3 separate regions of the Homo sapiens genome follow, and all the other regions are linked to region 1. The links are contacts of gene promoters, found by promoter capture Hi-C in blood cells and fetal thymus (Javierre and others, 2016). All regions are on one chromosome and are shown on one strand. Each heading gives the region's core, a stretch centred on a gene start or on the middle of the fragment in contact. The rest is flanking DNA. Distances are from core to core; before and after follow the strand shown. Region 1 holds the start of DBX1 (developing brain homeobox 1). Region 2 overlaps PRMT3 (protein arginine methyltransferase 3). Region 3 overlaps SLC6A5 (solute carrier family 6 member 5).

The links. The method cuts DNA at HindIII sites, captures the fragments that hold promoters and counts their contacts. A CHiCAGO score of 5 or more calls a contact.
Region 2: a fragment that was not itself captured here is called in contact with the fragment with the promoter of DBX1 in region 1 in 1 of 17 cell types (fetal thymus); the score reaches 5.6 in fetal thymus.
Region 3: a contact is called between a fragment that was not itself captured here and the fragment with the promoter of DBX1 in region 1, in 2 of 17 cell types (fetal thymus and megakaryocytes). The highest score is 6.1, in fetal thymus.

The regions. Positions count from the first base shown.
Region 1 is chr11:20,159,174-20,161,975 of GRCh38, forward strand. DBX1 (developing brain homeobox 1) reads right to left here and starts at 1,302. Exons shown (of 4, transcript NM_001029865.4): 1 at 785-1,302; 2 at 18-119. The coding sequence starts at 1,151. RefSeq lists enhancers at 1,682-2,183, 2,184-2,683. The HindIII fragment of the contact is 3,864 bases long and covers 1-2,765 here.
Region 2 is chr11:20,450,006-20,452,777 of GRCh38, forward strand. It overlaps PRMT3 (protein arginine methyltransferase 3), which reads left to right. Exons shown (of 16, transcript NM_005788.4): 11 at 2,125-2,203. It overlaps LOC124902808 (a long non-coding RNA gene), which reads left to right. Exons shown (of 2, transcript XR_007062965.1): 2 at 1-66. Among named protein-coding and RNA genes, the nearest start is that of PRMT3, 64 kb to the left of the region's middle. RefSeq lists an enhancer at 481-650. The HindIII fragment of the contact is 1,750 bases long and covers 585-2,334 here.
Region 3 is chr11:20,610,489-20,613,188 of GRCh38, forward strand. The region is part of intron 5 of SLC6A5 (solute carrier family 6 member 5); the gene reads left to right. Among named protein-coding and RNA genes, the nearest start is that of SLC6A5, 12 kb to the left of the region's middle. The HindIII fragment of the contact is 2,292 bases long and covers 161-2,452 here.

The sequences.
Region 1 (2,802 bases), core at 52-2,551:
AGGGGGACGAGACCTACCTGGGAAATAAGAAGATCTGATGAAAGGCTGAAAAGACCCTTCGAAGTAGGGAAAGGCGAAGGTCTTGGGAGGGACGCTCTGGAGCAAGGCTGGGGATGTTTCTGGTGGGCGATGGAGGGGGGACAGAAGGAGAGAGGGAGACAGAAAGAATCTGATTACGTACTTGCCTATTGTATAGCACACTGAACACACGATATAATTAGCCCTTCATCTGGTTTCAAAGACATCTTTCTTATACGTTGACAGGGTAAAATAAATCTTCCCAACATTGTCTTATCTGTAAAACTCTTTTCTTTCTCCCCAACGTAATTCTCTGCGCCGTCCCACTCTACCCCAATCTCCATCCTAGGCACTAACGAGATAGGACTGAGTGGGGAGGAAAGAAATTGCAGATTTATAATATTTGCTAATCCAATAAATATATCATATTGAGTTTAAAAAAAAAAACTGTCTCCTAGAAGCTCGAAGGCAGAAACGCAGACGTCCAGGAGCGTGCGCTCAGCGTTACTGCACCAGATGACTGCGCACAGTCTCCGACTGCGTGTGCTCAAGTTCACTCCGAGGATGGGGCGAGCCTGGAGGCTTTTCTTCCCCGGAATTGACTGGACTATTCTCACATTGCCTGACGTAGGGTCTCAGAGTTCGTGCGTATTGTGTGTGCACCGATGTGTGTGTGGGGGCCCGCTCGCTAGAGGAAACTGAGGCCAGGATGACTCCGCGCATGCCTAGTACCTGAATGGGCCCTTAGGGTTCTGACCTCGCTTACCTGTTCTGGGCCCCGAGGAGAGGATGGCGTTCACTCCAAACTTCAGAAACGTCGTCTCGCTGGCAGGGGAGAAGGCAGTCGGCGGAGAGCCGCCCCGTCGGCTGCCGGGACCCGGGGAGCCCAGGTCCGAGGCCCCCGTGTCGGTGAGGGCCGTGGGGGCCCCCTGCCTGGGCGGCGACATGCTGGCGGTGGGCACGCTGCGGGGCAGGTAGGCGGGGGGTCGGCTGATGCGGATCAGATCCTCCACCAGGAAGCTGGAGTGGCCGGAAAATGCCGACTGCAAGGACTGGGGCAGCGTCAAGGTGGGCGTGGGCCGCAGGAGGCTAGGGTACCCGGCGGGGGGCGCGAGGAGGCCGGGGAACATCATGGTAGGCGCGGGCGGGCGAAATAACCCTTCTTTCAGTGGCCGGAGGGTAAACGCCTCGCTTCCCGCCCCTCCCGCCCCCACAGTGTCCTCTCTCTTGGGCTTAGCAAACGTCTCCAAGTAACAATCCCACTTGGGCGTCTGCGAGTCCTCCGTGGTCCTCTCGTCGAGGTGATGGTTTTATAGTGGCCCGCCCGCTAAAGCACTTTGAAAAGTGACAGCTCTGACAATGAAGTTCAACAAAGTTCTCCACTCGAGCTTCATTCGCCGGAGGCTCTGGACTCTCTGATTGGCGCAGGGGTGCAATTTATGATTGGATTAGTCTTCATAAGCATGGCCCGCACAATGGGCCGGCAACAAAGGCCCGCGCGCATCAATTTTGCATATCGACCGCCTCTTTGCAATACAGTGCGCCCCCAAAGCTCTCGCCAAAGGTTTTTGTTCCGAAGCAACACCCGGGCTAATTAAATGCCTATTTAGAAGTTTCAGATGACATCTTGCCTCATAGAAAAGGAATTATTTAAAGAACCCACTAAATTTATTTGCAGCTCCCCTGCTAAGCCTGGAAAATAAATCAATAAATATTCATAGAAATACATCTTCAGGCTATCAGCAAAGTTGCCCTCCCTCTTGTGGGGGTAGGGCAATGAAAAGTTTCAAGTCAGTGGACATGAAAATATACTCCCTTTCCGGTCTCTAGCCCTATCCGTTACTCCAGCTGAAGCATAAAGCAAATGTAGGGGTGAGTGAAATCAGTGTTAGAAGTCCCATTCTGACGACTCAGGGAAACTTGGAAACGGATGCTTTGGGGCCACTGGATGTGTGTCCGTAAGAGTGGGGAGAGGTCTGGAGTTATTTCATTTCGGGAGACTGGTTGAGTTTGAGCGTTGGTGGATACCTGAAAAGTAAAACGAGTCTCCTTCAAATTCCCAGCAACTTGGAAAACGATTTTCTCTAGGAGTTTCTGCAAGGGGCTGTCCGCACCTCACCTTGCGGGAGGAGCGGAGGAGAGCGGCGCTGGGCTGCCGAGCGGCAGGATTCCGCTTGCAAAGAGCTTAGGCTGACCGGAAACTGCCTCGGGCAAGGGTATCCAAAGGCTGTGAGTGCTATGCTGGCCGTTCTCCAAACACAGGGAGCTCTCGGCAGTTTAAGTTGAAACTCACAGCCCTGACATTTTAAGCCATAGCAGCGAAGGTCCAGACGTCGTCTGGAGAGAACCCTACCACTTGCGGGGCCCTTAACTTGGCCCAAGGTTTGGCAGCTTCTTAATTAACTACAACGCACAAACGCGTGAAAACCAGAGGGAAGGGATGCGGTTCCCAAGAATGTTGGTCCACTCCGGGAAAGCCTCCCCTGAATGTGGGGCTTCAAAGGAGAATCTTCCTGGAGACAGTCCCTTCGCTTTCCTCTGGTTGGGGCTGAGGTGGTACTAAGACTCGATTCCCCCCATTTCTCTGTTCGGCGAGATAACAGATGTGTTAAATGTCCCATTCATCTCTTTAGTGTGGCTGAACCTCCCCAAAGAGAAGTGTGCAGCCCCGCCAGGCCGCCCTGATCCTATTAACCATGAACTAACTGTCACCTTCAGCTGGTTTTCCTTTTTGCTTTTTAACACAAAGCTTTCTCAAAAATCTTATTAACCAGCTTTATTTCT
Region 2 (2,772 bases), core at 210-2,709, 290 kb after region 1:
AGCTTGATGAAAGAAAAAGAAAGGATATTTTATGTAGGAACATCAGAGAAATTCTTTGTGATAAGGTAACAGCTGAGCTGAAAGATAGAATACTAGAAAACAATTTGACAATGACAAATCAATACAAACTTTTTTGGGCCTTTGTCCAAAAAGGATTGGAATGTAGTGAATACTTAATTTGTACTAAAGTGTTAATTTTATTTATTTTATTTTCAGTTTTGAAACACAGCAGTCTTGCAGATAGGGACCATTTTTTTCACCAAATCTATTATGTTTTACCAGCCAATCTTTTCTTCGTAAGATAGATGCCTTCCATTTAATAATTCCTTGGCATAAATTATAATTCACTATAAGCAACAGTTGAATGCCTATTTATAAGCATTTGTGTGTGAAATCTGCGTGAATATGTCAGATTGGTAAAGATTTCTTAGTTGAATCCCATAAGTCCCTTGTTCTTTGAATACATAGATAATATTAATGGGGAACTAACTTGTAAGAATTTTACATATTACTGAAGTACTCTATCCAGAAAAACATGTTTCTGTCAAATCCTTAATTTTCCTAATGTAACATATTGATAAACAAGCTTTGTTCCTAAGCCTCTGTTTAATAGGCAGTTATTTTTGTATCAATGAATCAGTGAGCTGGGGGGAATAGGTCAATACCGACGTAGAGTTGCCGGCAATTCAGTTCAGTTCCTTTATAAGTGATTCAAGCATGAGAGCTGTATTTTCTATAAATTAAAATTGCTGTTAATCTCTTGTGAAGATTATCCATTCTGGGTTTGCAGGTTTTTCTTGTTCTAGAGAAACCTTTAAAATGTTTTTTTAATGTGGTTAAAGAATATTATACTTACCCCACTGATCATTTATTTGTGAACAAAACAAATGAGTGGATGAGAACAGTTTTGATATAGAATGCTAAAGTAAAGGTAAAATTAATGTTGGTTCACCCTGAGCAATAAGATGTACTATGTGCTGAGCACTTGGCTTTCCCTGCTGCATAGGGCTGTTGGGGGGTTGGACCCTAGAAGGAGAAAGACTGACTGAAACTGATAGTGATTTCTCAGTCATGATTATTTGTCATTTGTATAATAAACTGTGAAGCACAGTATTGGAATGTAGCGTATTTGTGACACCAGTAGTGGCAAATTCTTTTTTCATTTGTACTGTATTATTTACCCTTTCTTGGTAGAGGATTCATTATCATACTCTAAAATCGGTAGTACACCAGGATCATGTTTCATGAATTTTATTTCCATGAACACTAGTTCTGCAAGGTGTTGATAGATGTTAAATAGAAAAAAAAAAGGTCTGTAGTCAGAAAGTGGGTAATACTTGGTTAAAATATGTTCAGCAGTTCTCTTTACCATGAGAACTACTCAGAACTTTTAGTGTGCTCATGCACATTATGAATCTCTAATAGGAGGATATGGCAGCTGGCGTTTCTTAAACCTTTTTGACTAAGGATCCCTCCACTTTCTTTTTTGTTTTTTTTTTTAATACCAAAAAGAAAGTCACTAGACAGGAAATTATTTGGGAAGTGGTTTTCTAGACTAGAGTTTCTCAACCTTAGTGCTATTGACATTTTGGGCCAGGCCATTCTTTCTTGTAAGAAGCTGTCCTGTGCATTGAAGGATGTTTACCAACATACCTTGGCTCTACACAGTAGATGCCAGTAGCATCTCGTTCATCCCCCACCCCCAGTTGCAACAATCAAAAATTACTCAGACATTGCCACGTGTTCCCCAGCAGGCAAAATCAAGTGGAGAACCACTGCTCTAGATGGATATTGCATCATTCCAGGGAGTTATAGGGCTTGTTAATAATGTCTATCCAAACATTTTTTAATGAGGAAGAAAGAGTAGTCTGGAAAGTAGAATCATAGATAAAGAAAATGCAGTATATTTTACCACAATAAACTTTCTGGGTTCACTTTATAAGCTGGCCTGATTTTCCAATAACTTACTGCAAAAAAAAGTTTCAGATTTTGCAGAATATTATTACATCTGTGGCAGAAAAAAAAATATTCTGTAATTAAAAGAGTAGCACCGATGTTTAAATTGACCTGCTTATGAGAGTATTGCACATTTCTAAACTCTTTTTTTCCCCTTTTTTTATGCAGGGCTATTTTCTTCTGTTTGAGTCTATGTTAGATTCTGTCCTTTATGCAAAGAACAAATACTTGGCAAAAGGAGGCTCGGGTGAGTATAAAATTCTGGTTTTAATAATCTAATTTTAGTCTAGCAGAACCAGATGAACCTTTGGATTTCAAATAAACTATGCATGGCTGAGGAAGTTCCCGATAGGGTTGAAAGATGTTTGCATTACAAGAAGCTTTAAGACATTTGTTTACTATATTGTTGAAAGTAGAATATTATATAAGACATGGGGGACTCCAAGGTAATGGTATTCTCAAGAATGCTTTTATTAAAAGGTCCTTTTAATAAATATCTAAAGACTAGGTTTTGGAAGCTTTTTGATATTCAAACTCAAATCTAACAAACTCCTTTTTATTTTTAATCCTCATGTCATTTAGTTCCCTTTTTTCCCAATGGCATATTTCATTCTAAGTTGGAAATTATTCACGACTTCACTAAATCTGTAAACCCGACTTCTCTGTGATTTTCTGAGAACATTTCAAGTAGTGACTGGTTTCTAATGAGTTTTAAAAGTGCCACATAACCAATCCACATATAAAGGGATCCTAATAAATTTGGAAGGCTTTCTTTTCATGTCTCTGGAAAACATTTAATCATATTAACTCTGCATA
Region 3 (2,700 bases), core at 57-2,556, 450 kb after region 1:
AGAGATTTGGTGTTTGCCCTCGTGTTAGTGATCTCTCCCGTCTTGGGTGGACGTAATGTTTGGCAGGAGGGCTAGAAATAACTTATGTGCTTATTTACAGAACAGAGATATGGAGTGTTCTTTAATTGTCTTCATTTATGTCACTGCTGGGGGAAACAAAAGCTTTCCTGGTAAATATTTGATAATGATTAGGTGGGAATCCTCCTGAAACTCTGTTATTTGATTAAAGAAGATACTTTGAATAGGAAGATATTTTTAGGCCCTGAAGTGGAGATTCTCAACCAGGGGAGATTTTGCAGGGGACATTTGGCAACGTTCAGAGACGTTTTTAGTTGTTGCAGCTGGGTGGGCTCCTGGCATTTAGTAGGTGGAGGCCAGGGATTCTGCTAAATATCCTGCAATGCACAGGACGGTCCCACAGCCAAGAATTACTAAAGCTGTCCTTGCAGGGTTAACAAGAATTCTAGACAGAAGTATTGTTATAATCAGCATTAATCAGGCTGTGCTTTTGACTCACTTCCTTGAAACCAAAAATTGAGTAACACTACGTACATTTGCATCCCCATTGTTCCTATAGATGAGATTTCTGATGCTAGAATCATAAGGCTTTTGTTTAAGAATTGCTTAAGCAGATCCCGAATTCCAGCAAAACAGCTGATGCCAACCAGTTTAAAGACTCCTACCAGCTTTAAGCAGGGGCTCATGCCTGTAATCCCAGCACCTTGGGAAGCCAAGGTGGATGGATCACTTGAGGCCAGGAGTTGGAGACCATCCTGGGCAACACGGCAAAACCCTGTCTCTACTAAAAATACAAGAATTAGCTGGAAGTGTTGGCACACACCTGTAATCCCAGCTACTTTGGAGGCTGAGACATGAGAATCACTTGAACCCTGGAGGTAGAGGTTGCAGTGAGCAGAGATTGTGCCACTGCACCCTAGCCTGGGTGACACAGTGAGACTGTCTCAAAAAACAAAAAACAAACAAATGAAAAAAGGTTCCCACAGAGGAACTGAATCAGTGTGAGAATGCTTTTCTTCATCTCTCTGTCCCAGGACTTCACCCTGCACTCTTCAACCTACTCCAAAACCCTAGCTCCAAACTCTTTGGGGAGATGGATTTGAGGTTTCCTCCTATCTCCTTGTTCAGTGGCTCTTATGATTAAACCTCTTTCTCTGCTGCAACGCAGGAAACTCTATTTGCTTCCTGCGAGTAAATGACCAGGCTGAGCAGATCCTATCTCATTCTTACCCAGTGGTTTATTTGTTTATTTATTTTGGTGAAAAAAAAAAAAAAACAAGGTGTCAATCCCCACTCTTTCTTTGTGCAGCCCCTCCATCTGTCATTCTCTGTGTTATCAGCACATGAGCGTGTTCTGTTCCTGGGCCCAGGCTGTCCCTTGCAGGGGTATTGGTCCTTTGGAATTCTGGGGTGACTTAAAAAAGGTCCTCTTCTCTTAATTAAACCTCTTTCTCTGCTGCAACGCAGGGTCTTGGTGAAGTATTGACTCACTGTGCCTGTTGGGCAATGGACCTATTGCGGTTACTTTATCTGACCCCAAATGCCATTAGTACAGCTATTGAGAAACCTTGGTCTAAAGAACTACTGAAAGGGAAGGGATTCTTATTATTGTTTCCATTTTTACCCAACATTCTAAGAAACTCTGCGGTGTGTATGGGAAGTGGTAGGCAATTTATGGCAGGCAAGTGGCCTTACGGGAGATGATGCTGAAGACTAGAGATACTCTCTCCAGAAAAAGCTATAACAATGATGATTGAGTTATGGCTAAAATTTATTGAGTGCCAGCTGTGTGCCAGGCATTGTGGGAAGATTTTTAATTTGTGATCTCTCTTCATTTAGTCCTTACTGCAACCCTGAACAACTATGACCAGAAAATGGAGGCTTGGACAAATGGAACTCATTCAAGCTCTCGGGAGTAGTGGAACGCCTGAACTCACATTCTTGCCCTCTATGCTCTTCCACAGAGAACATAAAATGGGAGTCCATGCACCAGATCAAGCCTGCTTCTTAAAATTATTTATTTATTTTAGAGAAAGGGTCTCATTCTGTTGCCCGGGCTGGAGTGCAGTGGTGCAATCACAGCTCACTGCAACCTTGAACTCCTGGGCTTAAGCAATCCTCCTCCCTCAGCCTCCTGAGTAGTTAGGACTATAGATGTGCAGTACTGCACCTGGCTAATTTTTAAAATGTTTGGTACAGATAGGGGTCTTGTTATGTTGCCTAGGCTGGTCTTGAAGTCTTGGGCTCAAGCCATCCTCCTGCCTTGGCTTCCCAAACTGTTGGGATTATAGGTGTGAGCCACCCTGCCCAGCCACTTTTTGTTATTGTTGCTCCTGGTATTTAAAGACAATTTTAACACATTCAATATTTTTAAATGGAGATATTTCATGTAAGTTTATAGATTTTCTGCATCTTTTGCCACAACATCTGGAAAAGCTTGGCACTGATTGGCTGGAGTGCTCTCTGGTTGGCCACAGTCCCCACCTCTCTCTATTATTTTCTAATTTTATGCCTTCCTCATTTGTGTCATCATCCTGGCTTCTGTAGGTGTTTGAATTTATAATCCCTGCTCCCTATTCACATTGGATTGCCTAAGTCATTGATTCCAAAGAGAGAGCTTGTTTACATCCTGTCTTGATGTATGACCTTGGCTAGCCACTGCATCCCTCTGTGCCCCAGTTT